7 separate regions of the Homo sapiens genome follow, and all the other regions are linked to region 3. The links are contacts of gene promoters, found by promoter capture Hi-C in blood cells and fetal thymus (Javierre and others, 2016). All regions are on one chromosome and are shown on one strand. The core of a region is centred on a gene start or on the middle of the fragment in contact, and the rest is flanking DNA. Distances in the headings are between cores, read along the strand shown.

Region 1 (3,199 bases), core at 67-2,566, 470 kb after region 3:
TTTTGTTCTTTGGACAAATTTATAATGGTTGCTTGGGCTGTTTGCCAGTTAAGTCCACCCTCTCAGCCACTTCTAAGTCATGGGTTTGGGTCAAAAAAATTTTTTTTTCCTGTGTGTGGGTAACACTTTTCTTTTTCTTGCAGGTATTATAGTATTTTTGTGGTAAACTGCCTATTTTAGATAATCTATTGTAGCAACTCTGAATACTGATTCTCCCTCTCCCTCAGGAGTGGTTGTTGTTTTGTTGTCTATTGTTTTGTGACTTGGCTGAACTAATTCTACAATGTTCATTTCCCCCAGAGTGCGCAGCCTCAGATGACCCTCCTCAGCGTTTCCTCCCTTGGCTTTATCTTTAAGCAAGGTTTTATCTTTTTGTCTAGAAGTGTCCCCTAGGATGGCATAAGCCACTTATTTATCAAAGGTTCTGCTTCAATCTCGTTAGCCAGTGAGAGCTTTATCCTACACCATTGGATATATGTGTGGCCTTGAGGCTGCTATTACAGTTCAGAGAGTTTACATTTCCTTGCTCCACATTTTCTCAGGGACTAGTTGCTTGAAGGTTTTTTCTCTGATTGCTCCTACGGGACACATTATTAAGCACGCACACGGTCTTACAGATCTCCAGGGATGAGCAGGATTTTATTTTTAAGCTTGGCTTCCTGCCAGTCAGTGTTTGGTCAGAGGTTGCGTTTAAGATCTATGTGCTAGTGACGCCTCCGCCCTATGTTGATGGGTCTGTGTGCACCTTCGGAAATGCTTTCAAATCTGCCCTGCTCTGATTACTCCCTTGTAGATGCAGCCAACAGCTTGCACTCAGCCATTAAGACCCTAGTGCTGATGGTGATTCTAGGAAGGATCTTCCTGGCTGTCTCTATTAAATTTATGGCTGCTCTACTGTTTTGCTTGTATTATGAAGCTGCCAGCCTCCTCTTAATTGGTCTCCATGAATATTTCCATGATTTGCAACAATGCACTTAGTGTGGAATTCTCCACACTCAGTTCCTAATCAAGTCTGTCCCTCTCTGCCCTGCCAAACCTCCGCCGCCCAAGCAGAACTCTTTCTCCACTATACTGGAGCTGTGGGAGGGAACTGCTTTTCTTGGAAATAAAACCCCTTTTTTGAGTGGGCGTCGGGGGTGGCTAAGAGCCTCTTTTCTTTTCAACTTTCTTCTCCTGGCATTAAGCTTTCATCCTACAAGCCAGCTGTAGGGGAAAGCAACTAGGACCTCAGTATTCTTAGCTTGAAATGCCTGAAGTAGATCTTCCACTCTAAGAGTAGGGGCTGGGTGGGGAAAAGGAGAAAAGTCCTCTCAGCCATGACTGCCTGGAACAGGGCTTCTGGAACGTATCTGGAAAATCTATATTCCCAGACTATAATCTGAGGGGAGAGGGAGTTTCTGTCTTGTTGGCATCACCTACCCAGAATAGAGTGCCCAAGTTAAAGCTTCTATAACACAAAAAAGGGTGTGAGGGGTAGGGGAGAAGGATGCAGCTCAAATACCATAGACTCTCATTATTCTAATAAATACGAAGTAGGTTTTCTTAAATAAATATTTCCCTGTTTGCTGTATGCCCTTAGACGATTTCCAGATATTTAAATAATTTTTATTTTTTATTTTTATGTATTTATTTTTTAGATGGAGTTTTGCTCCTGTTGCCCAGGCTGGAGTGCAATGGCACGATCTTAGCTCACTGCAACCTCCGCCTCCTGGGTTCAAGTGATTCTCCTGCCTCAGCCTCCCAAGTAGCTAGGATTACAGGCATGCACCACCACACCCAGCTAATTTTGTATTTTTAGTAGAGATGGGGTTTCACCATGTTGGTCAGGCCGGTCTCGAACTCCTGACCTCAGGTGATCCACCCGCCTTGGCTTCCAAAAGTGCTGGGATTACAGGTGTGAGCCACTGCACAAGGCTGATTTTTATTTTTTAAGATATTTTAGTTTTTATTTTGTAGGTGTGTATATTTCTCTGGTGTTACCTCAATTACCCATCTTTGCAGAAATCTTTCATTAAAACACACAGGCTCAAAATAAAGGGATGAAGGAATATTTACCAAGCAAATGGAAAGCAAAAAAAATGCAGGGGTTGTAATACTAGTCTCTAATAAAACAGATTTTAAATCAACAAAGATAAAAAAAAAAAGACAAAGACGGGTATTACATAATGGTAAAGGGATCAAAGCAACAAGAAGAGCTAACTATCCTAAATATATATGCACCCAATACAGAAGCACCCAGATTCATAAAGCAAGTTCTTAGAGACCTACAAAGAGACTTAGACTTCCACACAATAATAGTAGGAGACTTTAACACCAGATATATGAATGATTTTTTTTTTAAATTTCCAGTTAAATTGTTTTGCTTGGAGAGGGTCTGTAGAGCTCTTTATTCTGCCATTCCTGAAATCCTGCCCACTCCTCTTCGTTTATTTTTAGCTTTATTCATCAGTCTTGATTGATATGCTATTGTAATATATTTAAATTCCATTTTTAAAAATCCCAAAGACATATTTCTAATTGATTGTCATTATATTTATCCATGTATTTATCATTTTTTTCTTTTGCTGTGCTTTCCTTCTTATATCTCAAACTCTTCATCTGACGTACTTTACTTCTACCTGAACTGTGTCTTTTGGAATTATCTTTAGTTGTGTCTGCTGATGTGGTGACAGAGTGAGACTCCGTCTCAAAAAATAAATAAATAAATAAATAAATAAATGAGTTAAGCTGAAAATGAAGCACACTGATGAATGAAACTGAGAGAGAAAAAGAAATTATCCAAAATCCTCTAATAGTAAACAGAGAAATTGAAGTAAACAGAGAAATTGAAGTAAACAGAGTGAAAAAGACCTTGTAATTAGTCTGAGAAAGTCTAATCAAACACGAAGAATGAGAAGAATTTCATTCTTCTCCAACAAAATGGGTTGGAGACAATATGCGAAGAGCTATCAGCTGAGAATTTTCCAAAACCAATGAATGGCACAAAACAATAGTTTCAGGATGCCAAATGAGCTCAAATCAGGATAAATAGAAAGAAATACAAAACTAGAGATTTTATAGTAAAATCACAGCACTCTGAAGACAAAGAAAAACAGAAAAGTAGCCAGAGAGATAAGACAGTTGAAAATGGATTGCTCAGCAGTAACAATGAAAGCCAGAAAATGGGAATAGTATTTTCAACGTGAAAAGAGATAGTAAC
Region 2 (2,781 bases), core at 233-2,732, 490 kb after region 3:
CAAACTCAAAAGCCATCAGTGCTCAGACAGAAAATTTAAAAATAGGAAGGACATGGTATAAAAAAATGGGGAGTAAAGAGAATTGTGGCAATTGGATTGCATGCCAGGCTAAAGATATTTGTGGTCAAATGATTAGACAAGATACTGGATAAATATAAACAAAGTACTCTGCAGGCTGGAGTTTAAGGTCATGGATCAGCAACATGAGATTCCATGTAGCAGAAATGCATAATGATTTGATTTTAAAAGGCTATAAGTGCCCTCCTAAATAATTTTAATTTAACTTCCAGACAATGGAAAAATACTGAAGAATTTTAAGTAGGGCAGCAACATAATATTTCCAATAAAACAAACAAAAACACACTGTAGGATATAGAGAAAATGGAAACTTGAGCACATACACCTGAAGGTCCATGTACATCATTCTCATGAAAGTAACCAAAAATATAAAAAAAGGGAAATTCTAGACTCTATTCTGAAAACTAGAAAAAGATAGCACCCTAATGCTAGGAATTTTAAAAAATTTGCTGGTAACTTATGCTATAGTGGAAGAGGTAGCCTGATCATTGGCTGTCCACTTAAGTAAGAATATTTGCCCGACATACACATGACAGATCGCATCAGTATATTAATATCAATGTTAATTCAGAGCAGCAAGAAGTGGAGCAGGGACTGGGCTAATGCTACATTTGGATCTCAAAGCCACTTCTGGAAAAGGCACAGTTTCATAGGCCAGTCCAGCCAGGTTACACACAGCAGCACTTATACCCCACTTCCCATAGATGACCATGGGAGATTAAAAAATGAGACATTTCCAAGGCTGGCTACTAACAGGCAGTCAGACCTCAACTGGCTTCAGAACACTACTGTAACTAGAAAACAGATATTTGTCATCTAATCCCATTGTCCCCACTTTAAGTCTCTATTTTTCCTGCATATCTGCCCATGACCTTTGTTCTTAAATTGTTAAGTATCATCTAAGCATGTATCATCTGAACATGACACTGCCTAATAGAGATGTTCGCCTCAATTTGAACTCTAAATCCTGTTTAAATATAGTTAATCCTTTATAAGAATTAGGAGAGAAAAAATACTATTTTGTGAAAACACAATGCAGTTAAAAAAAATGATATCTGTCTGTGAAGTCAGAACAAATATTTTCCATGAAACAGCTCTTCATTAATAGGAAAAATTTATGTTCCTACCCACTGATATGGCTAGGTTTACTTCCCCCACCCAAATCTCATCTTGAACTATAATCTGCATAATTTCCATAATCCCCAGGTGTCAAGGGAGAGACCAAGTGAAGGTAATTGAATCACAGGGGTGGTTCCCCCCATGCTGCTCTCATGATAGTGAGTTCTCATGCGATCTGGTTTAATAAGGGGCTCTTCTCCCTTCAGGAGACACTTCTCCTCCTTGCTGCCTTGTGAAAGAGGTGCCTTGCTTCCCCTTCCCTTTCCACCATGATTCTAAGTTTCCTAAGGCCTCCCCAACCATGCTGAACTGTGAGTCAATTAAACTCCTTTGGAAATCACCCAGTCTCAGGAAGTTATTTAAAATGGACTAATACAGCCATATTAAAAATGTTTTTTAATTTGTTAATTTAACTATAGTTATAAAGGAGGAAAAATCTAACATCAGGAGAGACAAAAATATATGACTTTTCTGTTAAGTAAAACTGTAATTGAGGCAATGAGTAGGAGTTTATATTTGGATTAAAATTGAATACATGATATAAGCATAATGAAAAAATTCTCACAAACCTCAGAAAAAAAGAACAAAAATAATGAGAAAATATACAATGTATATGTGCTTTTAAATATTTTACATAAAATTGGAAATTCAAAAGAGGTGAGTACAAGAGATATAGTGTATGAAATAATAAAAAGTAATTTAAAATGTTTATAATTTAAATAAAAATTTAAGTTTTCATAATGAAATAGATAACTAAAAGTCAAATTTAAAGAAATAGAAATTTGTTAGTGCATTTATGTTAATTTTTAATAGGAATAGCATCTTTTAAGAATCCAGGTAGAAAAAATATATGTTCATAAAGGTAAAAATTTCAGCTGACATCATACTTTTGGCATTTTCTTTCAGAAAATGGTGATGTAATTACACTCATAACTCTTTGGGTATAAAGACAAAACACAAAAATGCTAGGTGAATTGAATGCCCACATGTAACTGAGAACATGGAAAAAAGGAACTCTATATTCTTTTCTACTAACTCTGTTCTTTGATTCACCCTGTCAACTTGGCATATATATCTCCTTAAATCCTACTTAATCTCCAGATAAAGACAGCAACAACATCATAATTCCACACAACATGATACAACTATTGCCATACAACCAAATGTTCACTGATCCCTTCCTCCTAAAGGGAAGAAAATTTCGTTTGTAATAATTTTTATAAAGTACTCTACTCAATTCCCTTTCAAAGTAAAAATTGCTCAGAGAACTATTTCTGTTGAATAAGAGAAGAAAAAAAATAACTCAAGAATGGATAAGTTATGCTACTATAGTACTCATGGTAAAAAATGGTATAGGCAAATAATAAATAATTGTTGTTAATATGGTCACAAATGGAATTTAGGTGTCTAAAATTATTTTTGAAATAAAATTATTCCTATGAAAAAATAATAAGCAAGATGTAAAATAAGAGATTAAAGTAACTAAAATTGAAAAAGATATTCAGGAAGAATTGAATGTATACTGACTTCTTCACATAGTCAATGCAATAAAATATTTCTTTTAATATTTTACGAATTGAAAGC
Region 3 (2,989 bases), core at 161-2,660:
TGGGCTCTTTAAATGGGGCAGTGTGCTGAAATTGACTGGGTTACAGGGGCAGGCTGAAGCTTCCCTAGCTCTCTTCATAGACTTCTTTTGTAGCATGTATTACATTTTTGGGGGGAGATCGTTGATTTATGTGTCTGTCTCCTCACTACAATGCAAACTTGCTATCTTTCTAGTGCCTAGAACAGTGCCTGGCACAGGCAATTTATTAAACTAAAGTGAACCAATAGCATTACCTCTTCCTTACTTCCAAGTTAATGTGCAAAGGCAGAAGATGAGCAGTAAAATCTTGCTTTACTTACAATGTCATCTTAACTGCATTGCCAGCTTTATACAATGAAGGCTGATGATGATATGGCTCCAAATGACAGTTATTAGATTTTCAAGGATTTTCTAAGTTTGTATCTTTATTAAAAAGAGAAAGAAGCCAACTATGACAAATCTTAACTCCCACCTCCTACTCAAAGAAGATGGAATCTTTTAGGATAAAAGTCTTAGATTAAGCAGCCAAATACTGACTTCTCAAAAAAAATTGTAATAACTCCATTCATAGAAATGAGATTATGCTGTAACATTCTTACCATAGTCCTGAATATGTGAATAAAAGATGCTGTGTATTTTCACTTAGGACAGATGTAAGATTTTCATATTGTTTACATTTTCCCTAAATGAGAAATGTATGAACACTTCTGCCCTTTTATTCCTGCACCACGGACCATGAGTCAGGGCTGCTAAAAGTATCCTTATTTTAGAGATTGCCTAAAACCAGACTTATATGAAAAGGGGATTTTTAGCTTTACTTTTCAGAAATCCCAAGTCCATATCCAGTCAGCTCTCTTCCACAAAATTATTTTCTTTTCTTTAGAAAATATCACATTTCATATCAAGTTATTAGAGAGAAACGGGAAGCCTGAGCAGGTGACTGGGTGGTGGACGTCCTGTGTTTCTAAAGCAATCCCTTTCCCTCACCTGAGACCTTGCCTAGGTTAATGGGGGCTCCATTGAGAAAGTCAAGGAACATGAAGCATGAATATTTACATATTCAGCAGAGAGTAAATGCATCAGCAAATGATGAGGTGAGATACAGTGTTATCCCACTGAACTAGTTCCCTTTTGCTCATCTCCCTCCCTGTTACTCTCCAAGGCTGAGTTATATTCAGCTGAAGCACAATTTGAAGAATACGAAATAATGTGTGATTTGGTGCCACCACTGTCAATCAACAGTGCTTTCCACCTAGACTGCTGTGCCTGTGCCAGTGGCTGCTGTCCTGGTGCCAGGGGCAAGAGGAAGACTGCCTTTTTTCCAGCTTTCCCTGGCTTGACCACACCCCCCAATTTAAGGAGGCAGCTCTATTAGAAACATTATGGTCTTTGCATCCTCTTAAGCTACGGAGCAGAGGATTCCCGCAGGTAGTTGGAAAGAGACCACAGACTTTGAGGGAAGCTCACTCAGGATCTGCTCTCCGGCAAAGTAGTAAGTGAGGTGTGTGTCAGTTTCTGCCTAAAACTTTTCAGTCCATTTTCCTTTTCCTGCTTTAAAAAAATTTCTGTGGAATTAAAGAGTAAGTCGGTAGGGAGATTCAGGATACAAGTGAGTTTTCTCTTTCTCTTTTCACGTCTTTCTATATTCCCATTTAATTGTTTAACAATTTTCAAAAATACTTCCTAACCTCGTCAGAATAGTCTGAAAGCAAGACTATGTTTTTAAAAATGTTCCCTGCTTCACAAAAGTAAAACCATGCACGTTTTAGATACCCGTAGATTACTTGTCAGAAACCCTGATTTTTTTTTTTTTTTTTTGCAAATTGGAGCACTTCCAAAGAAATAAAGCTGTAGTTAAATATATAAATTTCTTTTTATTCTCTTTCACTCCTAGTAAATCTATTGTTTTACTTTTTTCTCCTGCTAGTAGTTTAATGAATTGCTTTTAATAGAGAGGAAATTGCTACAGGTTTGAATCTTGCTAGCCAAACTAGCCTGTTTGGTGTTTTTCTCTGTCTTGGGACTGACCTGCAGTTGTCCAAAGATCTACAAGTTCCTAAGTCTGTTGTTGAGACATGGTGTGGGTGTGGGCCGCGGTTGTCTCAGAGTTAGGGAGGTATTTCTTGTCCCCACGGTAGAGCTGGACTCAGTGGCAGGAGATGTCGATGGCAATTCCTCTGCATCCGGTGATTTTATCTGGCCGTGACACTTTGTATGTGACTCCTCACCCACCGTTAAAGGTCTCTGTTACCAACTTTTAAAGTAGTATTTTCTTCAGGCAAACTTAAAAGGGTGCTGGGTCACTGAAATCAATGCATTCTATTGCAGGATTTCTTTATCACCTTTTGGGTAAGTTTTTGTTTTTAATCTCAAGTCCATTTTCCTTCTTACTTTAGACCACTGCCATGCAACTGAGAAAAAAGTATTTGTTAAACAGCAGGAAATACCAATTCTAAAATGATAACTCCATCAGCTCCATTTGATTTGTAAAATTACTGATACTATAACTCTTTCATCAGTTGTGGTTTTGGGTTTGGTGGCCTATTTTTATCCAAAGAGAAAACGCTTTTTCTTCAGGGGCCGTGGGCTGTGCACAAGGGCTGCAGGGTGGCCACTGCTGCTGTTGAGAGTCTTGCTCACCTGTTGTTCCTGAATGGAGGGAAGGGAGAGCTAATGGGTTAATGTCTGCAAAGTGCTTTGAAGATGAAAAGGTCTTTTCATGTGTTCAGTAGTGCAGTTATTAATATTAATATTTGAAGAAGCATGCTGCTTCTAATTGTAAATCAACTACTTCCATCCTTGCCAACTCAATAGTGAAATAACAAACAGTTCAGGCATCCATGCAGCCTCTTCCGTCCTGGTTCCGCTGCTGAGGATGTGGGAAGCCAAGCCGAGAGCCTAATTATGGAGGGGGCATCTTTGCCCGGCAGGCTCCTTACACGGAGGTGCTAGTTGCTGGCTGTGAAAGGATGTCCTGAGGCAGAGCCTGGGGGAAGCTGGTAGAGGGGTG
Region 4 (3,001 bases), core at 215-2,714, 410 kb after region 3:
GGACGTGATAGGGAAAAAAAACTATATTTGGAGAAATGAAAATAAACCAGGAGAATGGAAAGAACCCTATCAAATGCAATGCAGTTGTCAGGTACCATGAGAATTGAAAGATGTCTGTTGGGCTCAGGAGTGTGGAGGTCCTCATGACTACTATAGAGGAGCAGTTTGCCTGGCTGCATGGCATGTTTTGAAGTCCCAAACTCATTACCAGACTGACCCCTGAGAAGAGCTGTGGAAAGCACCAGTGTCTGAAGAGGTTTTTCTCTGTTAGTGCTGAAGGATATAATTGGATGGTTGAATGAGTGGGTGAATAGAGACTTTGCCTGCATCTCCAAACTTGTTTCTTATTTCTTAGTTGTGGCCATTTCTTTCTGGGAGAGGAAGGCATGGGGAAATGGTGAAAAGGGAATAATTGTCACACGTATCTACTAAAACAATTGACTCCACCCTCTTGTTTTAAATTCCATCTCTCTGAGAAGGATCCATGTGTTCACATACTCTGTTGCTCAAACAAGAAAACAGGTCATTCTTCTTACCATTTTCTTCTCCCTCTTCACTTTCAATCTACTATCAAATCCTCCTGACTTTTACCTCCTAGATATCTCTCTAAATTATCAATTTAGATTCCTAAATTAATCAATTCCTAAATCCTCTGGCTGGCCAGATTATAACATGGTAAGAATGAAGGAACTAAACAGATCTGGGGTTGTGAGTGGTGAGTTGTGGCCATTTCTTCCTGGGAGAGGAAGGCATGTGGAAATGGTGAAAAGGGAGCAATTGTTACATGTATCTACTAATTAAGACATCACATCGATCAGGTAACCCGTATTTATCCTCCACCTAGATCAGTCATTCCCAAGCCTGGCTGATCATCAGAATGACCTATGGAACTTTTACAAAGGACACACTTCCAAGTTACACCCCAAAACATCCTAATTCAGCAAGTGTATGCTGGATCTGGGCGTTCAAGTTCTACCTGGTCTACAGTTGAGTCTGATGATCATTCAGTCAGTGAACTGCTGCTTTAATTACTCTTGGTTTTAATTTCTACCCAAAACTCCCTGAAAATTCCAACGAAGAGCTCAGTAACCCTGTTCTTTCTTTTCCTCATTATTTTGCAAAATATAGAACACAAGGGGAACATACTTTTGATTTATTAATGATGCCAAGAAATATCAAACAGTTTATTGTTTCTATTATTAGAGGAAACCAGACCTGAAAAATAAGTGTAGCATAATCATTTACATACACAAGGCCCTTGAATGGTAAAGCTTCTCATGAATATCCTGGGATGAATGCTGGGAGGCTATTACCATCATCAATTCCATTTTTCAGATGAAGAAACCTAATTACCTCTTAAAGACCCCATCTCTTGAAACCATCACATAGGCAACACCTGAATTTTGGAGGGGACACACTGAAACCATAGCAGGGGGCAATATAAAGGAAGAGCCCAGCTTGAGAGGAGCACTTGGAAACCGTTTCTTGGGCCTTAAAGGAAATCTATCCAGGCTGGCGTTTGTTGAGTGCTGCTACTGCTGTTGTGACTGTTTATTTGTTGCTATTGTTGTTGCCTATTTTGTGCCAGTCATCCTACATATTTTACACCTCAGTGCTGAGGACAGCAAGCAGCTCCCCATGTTACCAGGTAAGCTTTCCAGATAAAACACAAGATGCCAGTTAAATTTGAACTTAAGATAAACTATGAGTAATGTTTAAGTATAAGGGTATCTCATGCAATACACAAGACATTTATATTAAAACATTACTTGTTGTTTATCTGAAATTCAAATTTAACTGGGTGCTTTGTATTTTTATTTGCTAAATCCAGCGGCTTTGTCCCTAAGACAAAGTTGGGAATTCTTAAAGAAAGAAAATCAATTTTATTTTTGGAAGCCTCCGATTCCAGCCTATTGTCTTCCTCTGTACACTTTTCCCTGTGCTTGCCACTAAGCTATGTCCAGAGTACAGCTTTAGGATCTCTGGAGCCTCTTCATCCACATAGAGCAGGACAAGTCAATAAAGAGGCAGCATTGGGGGAGCATGAACTTGACCCATTCAAAGTTAATGGTAACACCTTGGTGAGGAAAACAAATGTTAGGGAATGAAACAAAGGTACTTCCTGTAAGGACCACCATTATCACTAACTGAGGGAATTTGAGAGTGCTTCACTTCAAACGGATCTGAGGTATGGAAACCTGAGTTTATACAAATCCAGGGGTGCTTTCGTTTTACTAATTACAAAGGGATCCCTGGCCTTATAAAAAGATTTAAAAGATGTTTGGAACATAGTTTGACTTTTTCTATTCAAAAATCGTTCAATACAGCTGTTATATACAATAATGTACTCATTTATACTTTAATAAAATATAGATTTGCTGTTGTATGGGTTAGGGTCACCAGATTTAGCAAATAAAAACACAGAATGCCCAGTCACATTTGAATTGCACACAAACAACAAGTATTTTTCAGTGTGAGCATGTCCTGTGCTTATACTAAAAAATGAGTTGTTGATCTGCAATTCAAATGTATCTGTGCATCCAGTAATTTACATGGCAATGCTGTATGGATACAGTTTCATATTCCTGATTTTGAAGGCAAAGGAAGATGGAAAAAGGGTTTGGGAAAGGAATAGATAAGAATTAGGTCAGTATGTAATGCACTGAATTTTATCATAGGACCTGCTGGGCTCAGTAGATGTAGCAATTAGGTGCTTTTGACAGTGAGATTTGAAGTCTGTCTTGGAGGTTGGTAGACTTATATTACTATGAAGCCATGAGCCACTCTAGGTTTTGTGACCTAGCCACCCCCGTGACAAAACAGATATTTGCAAAAACAGCTGGGGGACACCTTCCGCACAAGGTCGGATGCACATTCCTCTTCCTGCTGAGCCTGGTCACCAGAGATCACCCCTCACAGGATTTCCATAAGAGGGCCAGGCAGTTCAGAAAGGAATCTCTTCCAAAGCGCCATCTGTTGCAATGTCAGCGGCTTCATGCAT
Region 5 (3,120 bases), core at 427-2,926, 510 kb after region 3:
TATATAACATCTCAAGATTGAACCAGGCAGAAATGGAATTCCTGAACAGATCAATAACAACTTCTAAAATTGATTTAGTAATAAAAAGCCTACTAGCAAGAAAAAGTCCAGGACCATATAAGTTCACAGCAAAATCCTACCAGATATATAAAGAAGAGCTGGTAGAATTCCAGTTGAAACTATTCCAAAAAATTGAGAAAGAGTGACTTCTCCCTAGTTTGTCCTATGAGGTCAGCATCATCCTGATACCAAAACCTGGCAGAGACACAACATAAAAATAAAACTTCAGGCCAATATCCTTGATAAACATGAACAATTCTAGCAAATCGAATCTAGAAGCACAAGATAAAGCTAATCCACCGCAGTCAAGTAGGCTTTATCCCTGAGATGCAAGATTGGTCAACATATGCAAATCAGTAAATGTGATTCACCACATAAACAGAACTAAAAACAAAAAACCTTATAATTTTCTCAGTAAAAGCAGAAAAGGCTTTTGATAAAATTCAACAGCTTTTCATGTTAAAAACCCTAAAAAAAAACTAATCAATGAAGAAACATACCTCGAAATAATAAGAGCTATTTATGACAAACCCATAGCCAGCATCAAATTTAATGGGCAAAAGCTATAAGCTTTCTTCATGAGAACTAGAACAAGACAAGGATGCCCACTCTCACCACTTCTATTCAGCATGATATTGGTAGTCCTGGCCAGGGCAATCAGGCAAGACAGATAAATAAAAGGCATCCAAATAGGAAGAGAGGCAGTCAAATATCTGTTTGCAGACATGATTCTATACTAGAAAACTCCATAGTCTCTGCCCAAAAGTTTATAGATCTGATAAACAATTTCAGCAAAGTCTCAGGCTACAATTCTATGCACAAAAATCAATAGCATTTCTTCCTTTCTTTCCTTTCTTTTTCTTTCTTTCCTTTCTTTTTCTTTCTTTTTTCTTTCTTTCATCTTTCTCTTTTTCTTTCATCTTTCTTTCTCTCTCTTCTTTCCTTCCTTCCTTCCTTCCTTCATTCCTTCCTTCCTTCCTTCCTTCCTTCCTTCCTTCCTTCTTTCTTCTTGATGGAGTCCCACTCTGTCACCCAGATTGGAGTGCAGTAGTGCGATCTTGGCTCACTGCAACCTCCACCTCCCGGGTTTAAGCGATTCTCCTGTCTCAGCCTTTCGAGTAGCTGGGACTACAGGTGCCTGCCACCACACCTGGCTAATTTTTGTATTTTTAGTAGAGATGGGGTTTCACTATATTAGTCAGTCTTGTCTTGAACTCCTGACCTTGTGATCCACCCACCGTGGCCTCCCAAATTGCTGGGATTACAGGCTTGAGCCACCATGCCTGGCCAATCAGTAGCATTTCTATACACTAACAACATCCAAGCTGAAAGCCAAATCAAGAATGCAATCACATAAACAGTAGCAAAAAAAGAACAAAGTATCTAGGAATACAGCTAAATGAGGAGGTAAACAATCTCTACAAAGTGAACTACAAAACTGCTAAAAGAAATGACACAAATAAATGAAAAAATATTCCATGCTTATGGATAGGAAGAATCATTATCTTTACAATGGCCATACTGCCCAAAGCAATTTATAGATTTACTACTATTCTTATCAAACTACCAATGACACTCTTCACTGAATTAGAAATAACTATTTGAAAATTCATATAGAACCAAAAAATTTTAAAAGATCTCAAATAGCCTAGACCATTCTCAGCAGAAAGAATAAAGCTGAAGGCATCACACTATCCAACTTTAAACTATTCTACAGGGCTACAGTAATGAAAACAGCATGGTGCTTGTACAAAACAGACATGTAGACCAGAATAGAGAGCCCAGAAATAATGCCAATCACATACAACCATCTGATCTTTGACAAAGTTGACAAAAACAAGCAATGGGAAAATGCTTCCTATTCTATAAATGGTGGTGAGATAACTGGCTAGCCATATTCAGAAGATTGAACCTGGACCCCTTTCTTACACCATATACAAAAATCAACTCAAGGCTGATTAAAGACTTAAATGCAAACTCTAAAATTTAAAAAACTCTGGACGATAACCTAGGAAATACCATTCTGAACATAGGCCCTGGCAAAGATTTCATGACAAAGATGCTGAAAGTAATGGCAACAGAAACAAAAATTGAAAAATTCGGGCCTAATTAAAATAAAGAACTTCTGCAAAGCAAAAGAAGCCATCAACACAGTAAACAGACAACCTACAGAATGGGAGAAAATATTTGCAAAGTATGCATTCAACAAAGGTCTAATATCTAGGATCTAAAAGAAACTTAAACAAATTAACCAGAAAAAAAAACAAACAACCCCCTTAAAAAGTGGACAAAGGACATGAACAGGTATTTTTCACAAGAAGACATAACATGTGGCCAATAAGCATAAAAAAAATCATACCATGAGTGAAGAGGGATAGTTTGACTTCTTATATTCCTATATGGTTGCCTTTTATTTCTTTCATTTGCCTGATTGCTCTGGCTATCACTTTCAGTACCATTTTGAATAGGAATGATGAGAGGGAGCATGTTTGTCTTGTTCCAGTTCTTGAAGGTAATGCTTTCAGTTTTTACCCATTCAGTATGATGTTGGCTGTGAGTTTACCGTAGATGGTGCTTATTATTTTGAGGTATGTTTCTTTGATACCCAGTTTGTTGATGGTTTTTATCATGAAAATGGATGTTGGATTTTATTAGAAGCTTTCTGTGTTTTTTGAGATGATCATATGGTTTTAGTTTTTAATTCTGTTTTTGCAGCGAATTGCATTTATTGGTTTGCATTTGTTGAACCACCTTTGCATCCCAGGGATAAAGCCTACTTGATTGTGGTGGATTAACTCTTTGATGTGCTGCTAGATTTGGCTTGCTAATATTTAGAGGTTTTTTGTTTGTTTGTTTTGTTTTGTTTTTGAGATAGTCTCACTCTGTTGCCCAGGCTGGAGTGCAGTGGTGTGATCTCAGCTCACTGGAACCTCTGCCTCTCAGGTTCAAACTATCCTCCTACCTCAGTCTGCTGAGTACTTGAGACTACCATTGTGTGCCACCACACCTGGCTGGTTTGCTAATATTTTGTTAAGAATTTTTGCATCTATGATCATCAAG
Region 6 (2,945 bases), core at 123-2,622, 460 kb after region 3:
GGTGTCAGCCTTTCTACGTGCAAGGGCCTGCCTGCCTAATTTGGACAGAGTGGGCCAGACTGCCCATGTCCTCCCAGCCCTTCCACTGGAAGTTGGATCCCAGCCTCACAATCATTCCTGGGAGGGGGAGGTGCAGCTCAAGCCAAATTAAGCCAGTGCTAGGAGTGACAAGTAAATGAGTGCAAAGCTGCTCCAGCTCTGTCTGCCCTTTCAGAAAGTAATCAAGTCAAATTATCTATGAGAAGAAGTGAAGTTGAGGGGGCCTGCAAATGAAAACCAGACTCAGGCAGCGGCTGACTTGAGAAAGCCCAGGAGCTCTATTAAAGACAGAGAGAGGGAGAGAGAGAGAGAGAAGAGAGAGAGACATTTTTTTCACTACCCCCAGACTGTTTACTTTTAAATATTTTGCTTTCTCCCTTGCTCATGTCTACCCCTTTGTTTATTTTTATTTGTTTCCTTTTCTGGATCTTCTAAAACTAGGCTGAGGACTCCAAGGGCAGGCAGAAGAGCCCATATCTGTGTGGGAACGGGGAAAGAATAAGGGAGCCTAGAGTGGGGCTCTGGCACAACTGTGCCTGGGTTCTGGGGTGCCTTTCCAGTGGGAATGACAGGTGGTGGTCAGAACTGGCTTGGGTCTAAATCTTCTGAGTGCAGCTTTTGGTCCAAACTGCAGGTCATTGGTGAGCCCTGTAAAATGCATTTGGATCCTTTAGGCCACTGATTCTTCTCAGGCAATTTTACTCTCGAGGGGACATGTGGCTATCTCTTGAGACATTTTTGGTTTTTGGTTGTCACATCATTAAAAAGTGAGATTTGATACTGACATCTATTGAGTAGAGACCAGGCATGCCCCTAAACATCATCCTATAATGTACAGGACAGCTTCCCATGAAATAGAATTATCTGGTTCAAAATGCCCCTAGGGCCCAGAATGAGAAACCTGCTTGAATAAGTATTAAATGACAAATGGTCTGGAAATGAAGAAATGAGGGCTGGAGCACCTCCTCCAGCTGCCCCTAATCCTAACGCCTTCAAATGAGGGCATCCCCTGTGCCCTCATTTGAAAATGGAGGCTGAAGTTGCACAAGAACTGGCCTCTCCAGTGATGATTTCTCCCCCTTGGAAATAGAGCAGTAGCTGTACAGTCACCTGGGCCCTCTCACAGGACTACACCTCCTGTTCTTCCATCTACCCCCGAGAACCATCACATTCTCTTTCCGACAGAGCCATCTCCAAGGAGCACTCGCCTTGACAAGACTACAGGCCCACATCACATCACTACTTCATCCTCCTCTTTCCAAACTTAAATGTGTGCCCAGGTGAAATCAGGAAGGGGGGGCTTTCAAGGGGAAAAGCAAGTATTTATAGTCTTTATTGGACTGTGTGGATCAAAAGGGAGAAACCCAATTACTTTGCCATAAGGCCGCGAACCACTTGGCAAATGAGTCTCTCAAGCCAAAACATTGCTAAGAGCCTGGGGATGGTCAACAGTTGTTCCTTTGGAGCAATATTGGATGAGGGAGTTGAGCAGTGGGAAGGTAGGAGGTAGCATGGTGACAGTGTCCCAGTAATGCCCTCTGGTGTCTGCGTCACTTTATCTCCTGACATTCACAGGCCCTTTCCTGGGCCCCACCTTTGAGGGGTGATCAGCCCCTCTGAAAGGTTTTCTCTGTGTTTGGCATGATTTTCAGGGTCAATTGGCTTCAGACTCTGTGTGCTCTTGCGAAGAGCTACCCACCATTTCTATTTCTAATAGAACAAATACGGTTTAGTTGGGCTAATTGTTTCTAAGCTCCAGAATGATGAATAGAGGAAACTATTTAACTCTGTCTCTCTGGAGCCCACTGAGGGTTTGTTATGATTCAGAAGTGAACTTGGGAAAATAAATGATTGTGTGAGCCCAGTTCCTAACAGATCCATGGGCATTTTTGTCAACATCAAGCAAGTTCCGTGATCAAGTGGTCACAGAGCTCTCCCTAAGAGAAGCAATGGTCAATTATCTGTACTGGATCTGGTGGCTCCGGAAAAGGGACCTCTAAGCCTCCTGTCCTCAGACTAACCTGGAAGGCACAGTGTCTTATGCCAGACTTTATCAGACAACAACAGGAGCAAGAAAACACAGCTTCAATTTATAAAAAGATAATAAAAGATAATATTTAGATACAAATTCTTATCATCTGTCTTCTGCTTTTTTCCACTTCAGTTCTCTCTGTTTCTTTCTCTCTCTCTCTGTCTCTCACTACAAAAGCCCCAGTTCAAGGGGATTTTACTTTGCTTTGGCAAAAATACCGTTTTACATTTCCAATAGGTTTAAATGCCTGTAAAGAGGCTCAGAGGGTGGCTTGATCACTGACAGCCTCAGACTAAATGATTTTTTGGACGCAGTGAATGCAACCCTATCAGAAGCATGTGGAATTTTATTTTGCTTAAAATTCACACCACTTTAAATTAAAGGAAGAAGCATTAGATCAAAGGGATGCAAAATTTTGTTCAGCCTCAAGAAACCATGGGCAAATTGTTCACCTCACTTGGTTTCAGTTTTTAAAGTACGGAGGATACACTAGATAATCTTGTATGCCCTTCGGACACTGACATTTTGTGGATTTTTGAGCCAGAATTCATCCTGCTCATATACTCTGTCAGCCTTGCTTTTCTGGTGAGAGTGGGGTTCTCAACAAGTCAGTAAGGTAGAGACCCGAGACTGGATTTGTACAACTTCCATTGGTCTTCACTCACCATAACAACAACAACAAAATGAAAACAAATAAAAGCCTCAAACACATAAGCCATCTGGAATTTTAGCTCTTATTTTGTTTTGTTTTGTTTTCCTATTTTAGTCAAGGTGGAAGGGGGCAGCTATAATGAGGTGATTCAAAAGAAGCTCTGCAAATTTCGATAGAACATCAAGAAATCACATTGTTTTTAAGAGGCTGAAGTATGCTTAG
Region 7 (3,216 bases), core at 403-2,902, 430 kb after region 3:
AATTTTGGTTGATGGTTAGCTTTGTCACACATTTTATATTCTTAATTCTCTCTCTGAAACATTTCTAATTTCAGTCCTTAAAATTCTTGATGGAGACGGAGAGCTGTTATGCAATCCGTCTTAATTATGCAATAATTTTATGCAATAATTTTAATCTCCCACAGCATATACTACTACCTTGAGCATATTTTGTTCTCATTAAGTGTCTTAATTGGTTTGTACTGAGTTAGAACAGTATACCAGAATTACTGCGATGCCAACTTCCCCCAAAGTGCCTGCATATTACTCTCTTCTCTGGTTTGTTTACTCCTAGGTAGGAATAAATAAGTGGAATGAGAGAGTTCCCTTTACAAATGTAATGTTGTACTTTACTCAGTGATACTTAGTCCACAGACATTGTGGGATAACCACAATGAACCAAACATCATGCCAAATGCTTTGGTAAAAGAAACAAAAATCTTATGGTCCCTGACCTTAAGGAGTTTGGCAAGACTGATGAGAAAAATCTGTAATGAACTTGCAGGCTGATAGACCCATATGTACAGAATGGAATGGACTTTATAATTTGAGCACAGAGGGGAGGTCTGTCTCCTTATAGTTTGATCCATTGAGATGAGCTCTACATAGAAGCCCTGAGATCATTCTTCATCCTGATAAAATCAACAGTACTACTATTAATAATAAAAAACAACCTGGTATGCACAATATGTTCTATCAAACATTCTCAAGTGTATCACATATTCTCTCATGTGTATCATGTCGTTTGCTCCCCATTACAACAATCCTTTGCAGTAGATGTTGTTTTCATTTTGGTTTGGGAAATTTAAAAAACTGAGGCTCAGGGAAAAGCGAACTTCCTAATATTATAAAATTAATAAATAGTGGCACTTGGAGTTGTCCCACTGACTGTTGCATGTTTTGTATTTATGTATCACACACTTTTTCTTCCCTTAAGCTTTTGGCGAGAAAAGTCAAAACGACAGAGCCAATGATTGAAAACATCTCTGTGCCCTCAGAGGTCTAATGAATGGGTGGGTTGGCATTTACAAAGCCACATGTACCAGTTTAGACCACTAGGGGGCCGTTATCAAATTGCTTTTTCCAGTGAGAGTGCTAACTAGTACCTCAACTATGTGATTCTCCGGAGACCCCAAAATATCAAGGATTGAGTTAGGGTCCAAAATTACCAGCTTTTCTTGAATATAGCAAGAGTTCAGATAGAGAGAGCCCTTCACTGAGAGTACAGAGTTCACAAACAGAAGCTTGGAGTCCATATTGGCTCCAGACCATCTTGCCAATAACAGAGAACTCTGTTGAAATTGAGCGCTGTTACAGCTCCACCTGCTGGAATTTTCCTAAACCAACAATTGGAATTTCCACAGAAATTTACTAAGTGTGACAATCCAAGACAGAATTTAAAATCTTAGTGTCAATCCATCTCTCTCTTCAAAAGATTTGCAGTAACACATGTGTGAAATAAGATAATGTCCCATGGAAAAAAGAATAGTCACAAAAAGTTATCTTACTTTCCATATGTGTAAGTATAGCTTTTCATGTGGTAAGAGATAACTTGACCTTAAATGTGCAATTTTAGATGAAAATATGATAAGAATAGTCTCTATTTTACTACCTAAAGCAAAAGTGGAATCAGTGATGATATAGAAATGCAATAACCTCAGAGTCCATAAAGCTGAGTATATTTATACAATACATTGATCTGCAGAGTATTTTTATCTTCATCTCTCTTCTATGGGCTCAAAATAAAGGTCAAATTTAGTCTTCAGTGAGATTTCCAGGGAGAGCTCTCCCTTAAAGATCTGCAGTCAAAACTTGCTTTCATGTTCTTTTTCCCTCCTCATTCTTTTCTTTTCCAGATCTTTTCACCCCCTTCGTTTCCACCCCTATCCTCCCATAAACCTGGGGCAAACTGTAGTCCATGAGCAGCAATACCAGCAACGACATCTTGGATTCGTTAAGAGCTTTGCAGATGAGCTCAAACTCATATTTCATCTCATTCCTGAAGTCATCAGATTCAAGCTTGTCACATTTTCTGAACACAAAGCTCCAGGCATGTTTTATTCATTATCTGTTCTCGTCTTTGAGACAAACACCTGCAACCCATTTCAGGGTCGAGAGACATTCATGAAGTTTCAACCCACCATGCTTAGGTTTTCATATTTCTACTTGGGCCAGGAATGTCAGAGTGTCATGGTTCCTACAGCCACTTAGTAGCCTCTCTAAGTCCTAGGGCCAGTTGCTCATGAAGGTGTCCTTGCTGTTGGCATTTGAGGGCAAAGTTGAAACTGACATAGGGACAATCTTTTATCAGCTTTTTACATTGTACGACTTAAGCTCTAAGCCATTTTCTTAAAATGCTTGAGGACGTTGGCATAGAACCCAAGGTAAGTAATGTTGAACTGAGTGTGCTGCCCTGGTGACTGTTACAGTGTTCTACATACACAACTTCATGCCTCATTGATAATGGGGATTAGTGATTGTAACACTGTGACTCACAAGATGAAAGCCCGAAGTCTAGTTTGGTCACTGGCTTCTAGGTAACCTTGGACAGTGGTTCTACTTCCCTGCCATGGTATATCTACTGTTGAAGAAGGATACTTGTAAACTAATCAATCATCTGCCAAAAAAAAAAAAAAACCTTTCCTTATCTAGTGCTCAAAAGAGAGCACATGGAATAGATTGTGTGTTCCCTCTAGAATTTGTAAAGTAAGAAATGAGCAAATACATTCCAAAAATACGCAATAGAATAAGTCAGTGGTAAAAGAGAAATACATCTCAGATCTTCTGATTCCTAATCCACTGACGGAGGAGAAAACACTGTTCTTGTGATGGCGTCTTCCTTGACGATAAATAATTTAACACTTTTAAAGTAATTTGAAATGTTAGAAGAAAAACAGAATTGGTTTAAAGTTTAGAGATTAAAATGAACATACACTAACAAACTGCATCTCAGCTTTCCATATATGCTTATCTTTTTGTACTCTGACAAAGCTATTAACTCACAAATTAATTAACCAACTAAACAAAGTCAATATAAAAATAAAGGGACAACGGTCCCAGAAGGTTAAAATGCAAGGTACTTGCACAGCAAAATTGCCAGCAAATACCACTCCTTTTTCTTGAATTCACAGAAAAACAAATCTGAAACTAAGTTAGAAAGCAATTGGTCAGTCAGCCAATAACCAGGATACCAGGCCT

What was found. Contacts are between HindIII fragments. The CHiCAGO score rates a contact against its expected background, and 5 or more counts as called.
Region 1: a contact is called between a fragment that was not itself captured here and the fragment with the promoter of ETS1 in region 3, in 7 of 17 cell types (naive CD4 T cells, naive CD8 T cells, total CD4 T cells and 4 more). The highest score is 11.4, in naive CD4 T cells.
Region 2: a contact is called between a fragment that was not itself captured here and the fragment with the promoter of ETS1 in region 3, in 1 of 17 cell types (naive CD8 T cells). The highest score is 5.2, in naive CD8 T cells.
Region 4: a contact is called between a fragment that was not itself captured here and the fragment with the promoter of ETS1 in region 3, in 17 of 17 cell types (activated CD4 T cells, total CD8 T cells, total B cells and 14 more). The highest score is 36.3, in activated CD4 T cells.
Region 5: a fragment that was not itself captured here is called in contact with the fragment with the promoter of ETS1 in region 3 in 7 of 17 cell types (activated CD4 T cells, naive CD4 T cells, naive CD8 T cells and 4 more); the score reaches 13.1 in activated CD4 T cells.
Region 6: a fragment that was not itself captured here is called in contact with the fragment with the promoter of ETS1 in region 3 in 1 of 17 cell types (naive CD8 T cells); the score reaches 5.4 in naive CD8 T cells.
Region 7: a fragment that was not itself captured here is called in contact with the fragment with the promoter of ETS1 in region 3 in 15 of 17 cell types (activated CD4 T cells, non-activated CD4 T cells, naive CD4 T cells and 12 more); the score reaches 22.5 in activated CD4 T cells.

Annotation. Positions count from the first base shown.
Region 1 is chr11:128,114,542-128,117,740 of GRCh38, reverse strand. All of the region lies in intron 2 of LINC02725 (long intergenic non-protein coding RNA 2725), which reads right to left. Among named protein-coding and RNA genes, the nearest start is that of LINC02725, 20 kb to the right of the region's middle. The HindIII fragment of the contact is 260 bases long and covers 1,187-1,446 here.
Region 2 is chr11:128,097,602-128,100,382 of GRCh38, reverse strand. The region is part of intron 1 of LINC02725 (long intergenic non-protein coding RNA 2725); the gene reads right to left. Among named protein-coding and RNA genes, the nearest start is that of LINC02725, 3.2 kb to the right of the region's middle. The HindIII fragment of the contact is 6,858 bases long and covers 1-2,781 here.
Region 3 is chr11:128,585,979-128,588,967 of GRCh38, reverse strand. It overlaps ETS1 (ETS proto-oncogene 1, transcription factor), which reads left to right and starts at 1,410. Exons shown (of 10, transcript NM_001143820.2): 1 at 1,410-1,480. LOC105369565 (a long non-coding RNA gene) reads right to left here. Exons shown (of 5, transcript XR_948163.3): 4 at 2,008-2,628. RefSeq lists a silencer at 1,251-1,457. The HindIII fragment of the contact is 9,036 bases long and covers 62-2,989 here.
Region 4 is chr11:128,174,647-128,177,647 of GRCh38, reverse strand. The region is part of intron 4 of LINC02725 (long intergenic non-protein coding RNA 2725); the gene reads right to left. Among named protein-coding and RNA genes, the nearest start is that of LINC02098, 33 kb to the left of the region's middle. The HindIII fragment of the contact is 382 bases long and covers 1,274-1,655 here.
Region 5 is chr11:128,079,935-128,083,054 of GRCh38, reverse strand. No RefSeq gene overlaps it. Among named protein-coding and RNA genes, the nearest start is that of LINC02725, 14 kb to the left of the region's middle. The HindIII fragment of the contact is 2,088 bases long and covers 633-2,720 here.
Region 6 is chr11:128,130,863-128,133,807 of GRCh38, reverse strand. All of the region lies in intron 2 of LINC02725 (long intergenic non-protein coding RNA 2725), which reads right to left. Among named protein-coding and RNA genes, the nearest start is that of LINC02725, 37 kb to the right of the region's middle. The HindIII fragment of the contact is 5,085 bases long and covers 1-2,945 here.
Region 7 is chr11:128,155,952-128,159,167 of GRCh38, reverse strand. The region is part of intron 2 of LINC02725 (long intergenic non-protein coding RNA 2725); the gene reads right to left. Among named protein-coding and RNA genes, the nearest start is that of LINC02098, 51 kb to the left of the region's middle. The HindIII fragment of the contact is 775 bases long and covers 1,265-2,039 here.